Linked DNA regions of Homo sapiens: region 2 is linked to region 1. Evidence: promoter capture Hi-C in 16 types of primary human blood cells and fetal thymus (Javierre and others, 2016). All regions are on one chromosome and are shown on one strand. Each heading gives the region's core, a stretch centred on a gene start or on the middle of the fragment in contact. The rest is flanking DNA. Distances are from core to core; before and after follow the strand shown.

Evidence for each region. Contacts are between HindIII fragments. The CHiCAGO score rates a contact against its expected background, and 5 or more counts as called.
Region 2: a fragment that was not itself captured here is called in contact with the fragment with the promoter of TRANK1 in region 1 in 1 of 17 cell types (neutrophils); the score reaches 6.7 in neutrophils.

What each region holds. Positions count from the first base shown.
Region 1 is chr3:36,942,643-36,947,060 of GRCh38, reverse strand. TRANK1 (tetratricopeptide repeat and ankyrin repeat containing 1) reads left to right here and starts at 2,007. Exons shown (of 24, transcript NM_001329998.2): 1 at 2,007-2,274. The coding sequence starts at 2,252. RefSeq lists an enhancer at 1,840-1,909 and a silencer at 2,140-2,359. The HindIII fragment of the contact is 7,723 bases long and covers 1-3,117 here.
Region 2 is chr3:37,165,166-37,169,721 of GRCh38, reverse strand. All of the region lies in intron 1 of LRRFIP2 (LRR binding FLII interacting protein 2), which reads left to right. Among named protein-coding and RNA genes, the nearest start is that of LRRFIP2, 7.1 kb to the left of the region's middle. The HindIII fragment of the contact is 8,372 bases long and covers 1-4,556 here.

The DNA of each region.
Region 1 (4,418 bases), core at 758-3,257:
TATCTCCGAAACCAAAAAATACCCCGCAACCAAAAAACCCCAAACCAAAACCAAACCAAACCAAAACCCAAACTGAACAAACCCAAAAATCACCAACAGAAAGAGGTATGCTAGAAGAGGTGGCATGTGCTTTCCTAAATATAGAATTGGGGGATGTTGGGAAAAGTATTGGAGGAAGGATATGGAAAGTATCCTAAAAGTGAAAGGACCAATGATGTCTGGGAAATAGCAAGTAGTCCAACTATTTGGTGGCTAGCAGTGATTCTCAAACTTTGCAGCATGTTATAGTCTTTTAAAAATCCTGATGTGGCTGGGTGTGGTGGCTTGCACCTATAATTCCAGCACTTGGGGAAGCCTAAGTGGGTGGATCACTTGAGGTCATGGGTTTGAGACCAGCCTGTCTAACATGGTGAAACCCCGCCTCTACTAAAAATCTAAAAAATTCAGCCGGGCAAGGCGGCGGGCACCTGTAATCCCAGTTACTCAGGAGGCTGAGGCAGGAGAATCACCTGAACAACAGAGTGAGACTGTCTCAAAACAAAAACAAAAACAAAAATTCCTGACGCCCATGTCAATTAGACAATTTGGGAGTAAAAGCCAAACATACGCATATTTTTGGGTTTTTTTTTTTTTTTTTGTATTTTTAGTAGAGATGGGGTTTCTCCATGTTGGTCTGGCTGGTCTCAAACTCCCGACCTCAGGTGATCCGCCTGCCTCAGGCTTCCAAAGTGCTGGGATTACGGGTGTGAGCCACCCGCCCGGCCTTGTTTTTGTTTTTAAGCTCCCCAGGTGATTCTATTGTGTAACTAAGGTTGGGAAGCACTGCAGTATAGAGTTTGCATGAGGAAGCTAAGATTGGAAATGTGGGGCAAGATTGTGAAGAAGAATCTCAAATGCCCGGGTACCTAACCTGATCTCTAGGAGACAATGGAGTGCCACTGATGGCTTTTGAACTGTACGTGATTCATCCTGATGTTTGGGGAAGATCAATGCACAGAAATCTCTGTGAGATTCTAGAAGCAAGGAGACCACTAGCTAGACTGAGACTAGTTCACAACGCAGAATGACCAGTGGAGAGAAGTATACTGTGTGCCTTAGGTGTGTCCACGTGTTACCAAAGCCTCTCTGTTTCGCTGAAATGTGTGGTCCCCCTCACTAAAGCTCTGGTGGTGTCCTCCCTGCCACCAGGCAGCCTGGTGTGGTGGTCCCCCAGAAGGATGGGCGAACCACCGGGATGCAGTGTAGGCCGAACCTTGCCCCAGGGGAGGGCGGCGGGCTTAGCTCTCTGATTGGGTGGATTCTCTGGTGTGTAGGAAAGTACTCCCAGGCCCAGAGAAGCTGTGAAGACCAAACCGGCTCCCTAGGCCGAGAACCGCTGGGGAGGTAGCAGCCAGAGGTGGTCCTCTCCGACCCACTACTCTGTCGATCATCACTGGGGAGGTGGAAAGACAAGGCAAGATCCTCATTTTGTTGCCTGCTCAGGCCTGTGCGCACTTACTCTCCATGGACACGACGGTGAGCGTGGAGCAGCCCGCGGTCTCGCTGCCCCCTTCACTCCCGGACCCCCAGCCTCCCCAGAGTGGAGGGGCAAGCACACAGTAAGTACTTGATATTCGCCCGACTCCTGAGCTCCTCATCTGTAGGAGCTAGGGGGCTTGTTCTCCGTACGTCCTTTGTTGGAGGGAGGAACGAGGGAAGGAGAAAACCCACGCTGAGGCCGTTGGCCGATCACTTTCTTTACCTCCCGGACAACATTGATGGGCCCCACTAAGGAAAGCCGAATTCTCGCATGCCCGAGGAGTGTCGGAGGTGGTTGTGCGCCTAGTCCCTCCTGGTAAAGGGTTCGAAGCACTCGTTTATTCAAAGGCGGCCGAGAGCCATACCATTTGCTTGCATGACGGGAGACACCGAAACGCCCCTTTTGAACGCGATGACAAACACCTCCTCCCACTCAGCAGCGACGTGCACGTGACAGTTTTTGGGCTCTCGCAACTACGTGGAAACTTGGAATAGGTCTGCGGCTGCACACCGCCCGGACGCCGGGGTTCCTGCGTCCCCCGCCCCCTCTGATCGCGGCTGGGTAGCCGAGCCGCAGGCAGCTGGGGGCCCCCGAACGCCGCCTCTGCATCGCGCCGCCCCTGCCCCGGGCTCCGGTAGCTTTCGGGCTTCCGCACTGCCCGCCGCGCCCTGCCCACAGGGAAGCGCTTCCCCAGGCGGCGGCGGTCCTGGTGCGGACCCTCCGGCCGCAGCCATGTGGGACCCGCGGGCAGCTAGGTGCGTAGCGGCGCGGGAAGCACTGGGGCATCTCTGGCCTTCCGGGCCCGCCACCCTTCCTGGCGGGAGGCGGCCGCGCGCGGGGACTGGCGACCCTGAGGTAGCGGCCGAACGGGCCCGCCCGGCCATCCCTGTGGGGCCCACAGCCATCTAGGTGCAGACCCGAGCCAGTTGCGCGGGGTCGGTCGCGGGGGACGGCTTCGGCCTTTTCGGTCCGGAGGGACCAGGGCACGCGCTGCGACAGGACTGCGGCGGCGCGCGGCCTGCCTAGCTCCCACCCCGGCATCGAAGCCGCAGCTCTCGGGCCCACCTCCGCATCCTCAGGGGTTCCCGGGGGCTGCCGACAGGTTCCTGACCAGCGAGCGCGCCCCCGGGGCAAGCATTCTTGGCGGGCAGAAACCTGGGAGCGGAGCACAGCGGTGCAAGGGAACCGTGCCAGGCGGGAAGGGCGGAATTTGCGGGGAACTTGGAGCGCGCTGGCCTCTTCCCGGCAGTAGGAGGCCTTCTTCCCTGCCCGCCCGATTGAGGGCTGCTGGGCTGGCTCAAACTGGACTGCACGGTCCATCAGCCTGGGCTCACCGAGTCTAGGGGGAAGGTAGTAGTAGGGACCCAAGGCTGGGAAGCGGAGCCCTTAGAAGCCCTTGCTTCTGCCTCGGAGCGTTTCCGAACCGGAGCTCGGAGTCTGTTGCCTGGGAGGCGCGTTGCGTTTCCTCCCAACTCCCTGTCTCCGTCCCGCGGGGAGCCCTGTGCACTTGCAACCCGGCTGAGATAGAGCCCATCTTTGAGGTGCAGCTCAAGCCACCTTTTCTCCCAGATCGGGGTGTTTCTGGGCAGTTGAAAGCTTTGGTGCTTCCTAGGAAAATTTTTATGGAAGTGTGCAATTTGGAAAATAAAAGAAAAAAAAATTTAAGAAGCAGAAAGAGAATGGGGCTCTGAGGTCTCTAGTTCCCCTATCTGCTCCAACCCAGTTGCTGCTGGCTCAGTTAGTCCTTATGCGGGAAGGAATAGCTGGGATTAAAGCCTTGTGTTCCCAGCGTAGGTATGCGCTCCTGCTCCCTCGTGCTGAGCGTTTTGGGTTCCAGGATCCTTTTTGATATAAGGCTGTTATCCGGATGGCATCCTGTTTGGTCCTTTATAGAAAAAAAAAAAAAGTACTACGGTGTGTGTGTGTTGGAGGGCGGGGACGGTGGTCAGGAGTTTGTTTCAACTGTTTTCCAGGCAGGTCTGTTTTGTAGGATTGCAGGATAGGTGCTTGAGTTCATATGCTCTTTGTTGGCTTTTGCATCCTCTGCGGGGGGTGGGGGGGTGGGTAGAGGTGGGATAGGTGTGTGTGGCATTCACTCCCAGAGTCGCATCCCACTGCCACTGGCCTATGTATGGGTTTCTAGGTCTTTTTTCGATCAAGACCCACACCCACCCACCTATATGTATATAATGTATATATGCATAATATGTGTGTAATATTATATATACATATATACGCACACACACATACACATGTAAAATTGCAGCAAGAGCTTCATGGTATAGTTATTCTTTCTACAGGGTGAGGCACAATGATATTTTCCATTCTATTCCCTCCCCCCACCCCCCACCAGAGGGATTCTCGCTCTGTCACCCAGGCTGGAGTGCAATGAGGCGATCTCGGCTCACTGCAGCCTCCGCCTCCTGGGTTCAAGCGATTCTCCTGCCGCAGCCTCCGAAATAGCTGGGATTACGGGGGGCCGGGGGTGGGGCGCCACCAAGCCTGACTAATTTTTGTATTTTTAGTGGAGACGGTGTTTCGCCATGTTGGCCATGCTGGTCTCAAACTCCTGATCTCAAGTGATCCACCCGCTTCTGCCTGCCAGAGTGCTGGGATTACACGCCAGAGCCACCACGCCGGCCCATTCTATGTTTTTTTTTTTTTTTTAAAGCGGGTCATAAATTGTTAACTTCACTTTATGACCGACTGACCAGCTTTATGGGGCAACTGCAGGTTCTGTTTCCGCCGCTCTCCCAGAGTATGAGGAGACCGTCAGCATTTCACAGGGGAGTTGACTTTGGAAGTGAGGACTTGGTGTAGGAGTGATGAAGTAGACTGAAATTCATACTTGAGTGATAGAATACTGTAGGACATGGCTGTGTGGTTCAAGCCAGTACCA
Region 2 (4,556 bases), core at 1,312-3,811, 220 kb before region 1:
AGCAAATTTAATTTTTATGTTACTGTTCTGAGCATGTTGTTCCTTACATGCCCACTTTCCTAAGTAGAAATATATTAACAGCTAGAAGAAATCTTTTGGCTTTCTGTTTTGTAAGTTAGAGTATACCGTACTGTATGCAGAGGATTAGGATGTTAAAATATTTATTTCCCTGTTAAATGGCTTAAATCATGAACAAACTGAATATATAGCATTGCTTTTTTTAAAAAGTGAGTATCCCAGTTAAGTGACCTAAGGATTATAGGACTAAATGTAGAAAAAAATTCAGCTTTAGATTAGATGTTTTTTCCCTTGTCACAGATAATGCTGTATCTAGGTGAACAGTCAAGGAAATGAGAGGGCATTGTTCTTGTCTTGCCAGATTCATCCTTTGCAATCAAATAAAGTTTGTTTTGTTTTTAAAATTGTGGTACAATATAGATAACATAAAATTTACTCTGTTGACCTTTTTTAAAAATATTTTTATTATGGTAAAATACAGTCATTTGTTGCTTAATGACAGGAATATGTTCTGGGAAATGCATCATTAGGTAATTTTGTCAAGCAAACATCATAGAGTATACTTACACTAACCTGGACAGTATAGCCTACTACACACCTAGACTATATGGTATAGTCTGTGGTTCCTGGGCCATAAACTTGTGCAGCATGTCACTGTACTGAATACTATAACTGTAGACAATTATAACACAGTGGTAAATTTTCGTGTATCTAAACATAGAAAAGATACAGTTAAAATATGATATAAAAGATTAGAAAATAGGCCAGGCATGGTGGTGTGCACCTGTAATTCCAGGTACTCAGGCTGAGGTAGGAGGATCACTTGAGATCAGGAGTTCTAGGCTGTAGTGTGCTATGAGCACATCTATGAATAGGCACTGCGTTCCAGCCTGGGCAACATAGTGAGGCCCCATCTCTTAAAAGGGCACACGTGTATAGGACAGCTCCATTATAATCTTATGGGACCACTGTAATATGTGTAATCCATTGTTGACTGGAACATCCTTATGCAGCACATGACTGTGTACATAACTTAAAATTTATCATTTAAACCATTTTTAAGTGTACAATTCGGTGGTATAAAGTACATTTACATTATTGTGTAACTATCACCTCTATCCATCTCCCTAACTTTTTCATCATCCTAAACAAGCTCTGCCCATTAAACAATATCACCTCATGCCCATAGCCCTTGGTAACCATTGTTCTACTTTTTGACTCTATGAATTTGTGTACTCCAGGTACCTCGTATAAATGGAATTATGTAATATTTGTCTTTGTGTCTGGCTCATTTCTCTTAGCATGATGTCTTCAAGATTCATCCATGTCATAGCATGTATCAGAATTTCATTTGTTTTAAGGCTGAAAAATATTCCTTCGTATGTTTATACCATATTGTTTAATCATCTTTTGATAGATGGGTTGTTTCCATCTTTCTGCTTTTGGGAATAGTGCCACCATGAATATGAGTATGCAAATGTCTGTTTGAGTGCCACATTCAATTCTTTTGTGTATGTACCCAGAAGTGGAATTGCTAGTAATTTGATAATTACCAAATTTCATTTGGTAATTCTATGCTTAATATTTTGAGAAACCACCATACTATTTTCCACAGTGGCTATACCATTTTACATTACCACCAGCAATGCACAAGGGTTCCAGTTTCTCCACATCCTTGCCAACATTTACTATTTTCTGTTTTCTTATTGATTGATTTTTATTTATGTTGAGCCAGGGTCTCACTCTGTCACCAAGACTGGAATGCAATGGCCCGACCACAGCTCACTGTAGCCTTGACCTCCCGGGCTTAAGTGTTCCTTCCCACCTCAGTCTCTCGAGTAGCTGGGAGTACAGGTGTGCACTGCCATGCCTGGCTAATTTTTGTATATTTTGTAGAGATGAGGTCTCTCCATTAGCCCAGGAGGGTCTCAAACTCCTGAGCTCCGCCAGCCTTGGCCTCCCAAAGTGCTGGGATTACAGGTGTGAGCCATTGTTCCTGGTCCCGTTTTCTTTTTTTTTTCTTTTTTCTTTCTTTCTTTTTTTTTTTTTTGAGACAGAGTGTTGCTCTGTTGCCTAGGCTAGAGTGCAGTGGCGCGATCTCGGCTCACTGCAACCTCTCCCTCCTGGGTTTAAGCGATTCTCCTGCCTTAGCCTCCCAAGTAGCTGGGACTATGGGCACCCGCCACCACGCCCGGCTAATTTTCGTATTTTCAGTAGAGACGGGGTTTCGCCCTATTGGCCAGGCTGGTCTCGAACTCCTGACTTTGTGATCTGCCCGCCTCGGCCTCCCAAAGTGCTGGGATTACAGGCGTGAGCCACTGCACCCGGCCTGCTTGTGCCTGGCCCTGTTTTCTAACACAAAAAAATCGATTATTTTTAAAATAAAATCTCTAATAGGGTGGTATTTCACTGTGGTTTTGATTTGTATTTCCCTGGTGATGGGTGACATTGTGCATCTTTTCTTTTTCTCTTCTTTTCTTTCTTTCTTTCTTTTTTTTTTTTTTTTGGAGACAAGATTTTGCTTTGGCACCCAGGCTGGAGTGTAGTGTCACAATCATGCCTCACTGCAGCCTCGACCTCCTGGGCTAAAATGATCCTCCCACCTCAGCCTCTCCAGTAGCTGGGACCACAGGCATGTACCACCATGTTCAGCTGATTTTCTTTTCTCCTTCTGTTTCTTTTTTTTTTGAGACAGAGTTTCGCCCTTGTTGCCCAGGCTGGAGTGCAATGGCGCTATCTCTGCTCACTGCAACCTCTGCCTCCCAGGTTGAAGCGATTCTGCCTCAGCCTCCCAAGTAGCTGGGATTACAGGCATGCGCCACCATGTCCAGCTAATTTTGTATTTACAGTAGAGATGGGGTTTCTCCATGTTGACCAGGCTGGTCTCGAACTCCCAACCTCAGGTGATCCGCCCACCTCAGCCTCCCAAAGTGCTGGGATTACAGGCATGAGCCACTGTGCCTTGCCTCTTTTTTTTTATATTTTGTAGAGACATGTTGCCCAGGCTGGTCTCCAACTCTGGGTTCAAGCAACGTCCAGGCTGGTCTCCAACTCCTGGGCTCGAGCAATACTCCTGCCTCAGCCTCCCAAAGTGCTGGGATTACGTATGTTGAGCCATCATGCCCGGCTGAGCATCTTTTCATGTGACCATTTTTGTATCTTCTTTGAAGAAATGTCTACTTATGTCTTTTATCTTTTTAATTGGGTTTTTGTTGTTGCTTAGTTGTAGGAGTTCTTTATATCAATCCTTTATCAGCTATGTGATTTGCAAATTTTTTTTTATTCCGTGGTTTGCCTTTTTACTTTTTGATAGTGTGCTTTGATGTACACAGTTTTGTTTTTATTTTATTTTATTTTATTTTATGTTATGTTATTTTAAGATGGAGTCTTGCTCTGCCCAGGCTGGAGTGCAGTGGCCCAATCTCGGCTCACTGCAACCTCCGCCTCCTGGGTTCAAGCTATTCTCCTGCCTCAGTCTCCTGAATAGCTGGGATTACAGGCATGCGCCACCATGCCTGGCTAATTTTTGTATTTTTAGTAGAGACGGGTTTTCACCATGTTGGCCAGGCTGGCCTTGAACTCCTGACCTCGTGATCTGCCTGCCTTCCAAAGTGCTGGGATTCCAGATGTGAGCCACCGCGCCCTGCCCAGAGTTTTTAATTTTGATGAAATCCAACTTACCTTTTCTTTTGTTGCTTCTGCTTTTGGTATTATGTCCAAGAAATCATTGCCAAATTCAATATCATGAAGTTTTTCCCATATATTTTCTCCTACGAGTTTTATGGTTTTAGCTCATTTGTTTAGGTCTTTGATCCATTTTGAGTTTTTTCTTCTTTCTTTCTTTCTCTTTCTTTCTTTCTTTCTTTCTTTCTTTCTTTCTTTCTTTCTTTCTTTCTTTCTTTCTTTCTCTTTCTTTCTCTTTTCTTTTCTTTTCTTTTCTTTTTTTTGTGACAGAGTTTCTCTCTTGTTGCCCGGGCTAGAGTGCAATGGTGTAATCTCGGGCTCACTGCAACCTCCACCACCTCCTGGGTTCGAGCAATTCTCTGGCCTCAGCCTCCCGAGTAGATGGGATTACAGGCACCTGCCACCACGCCCAGCTAATTTTTGTATTTTTAGTAGAGACAGGGTTTCACTGGTCAGGCTGGTCTTGAACTCTTGACCTCAGGTGATCCGCCTGCCTTGGCCTCCCAAAGTGCTGGGATTATAGGCGTTAGCCACCATGCCTGACCCCTGAGTTAACTTTTCTATATGGTATAAGGCAGTGGTCCCCAACCTTTTTGGCACCAGGATTCAGTTTTGTGGAAAGCAATTTTTCCATGGACGGGGGTGGGGTGGGTGGGGGGGTTGGTTTCGGGATGAAACCATTTCATCTCAGATGATCATCAGGCATTAGATTCTCATAAGGAACGCACAACCTAGATCCCTCACATGCACAGTTCATTTTTTTTTGTTTTTTTGTTTTTTTTTTTGAGACAGAGTCTCGCTCTGTCACCCAGGCTGGAGTGCAGTGGTGCAGTCTCGGCTCACTGGAAGCTCCG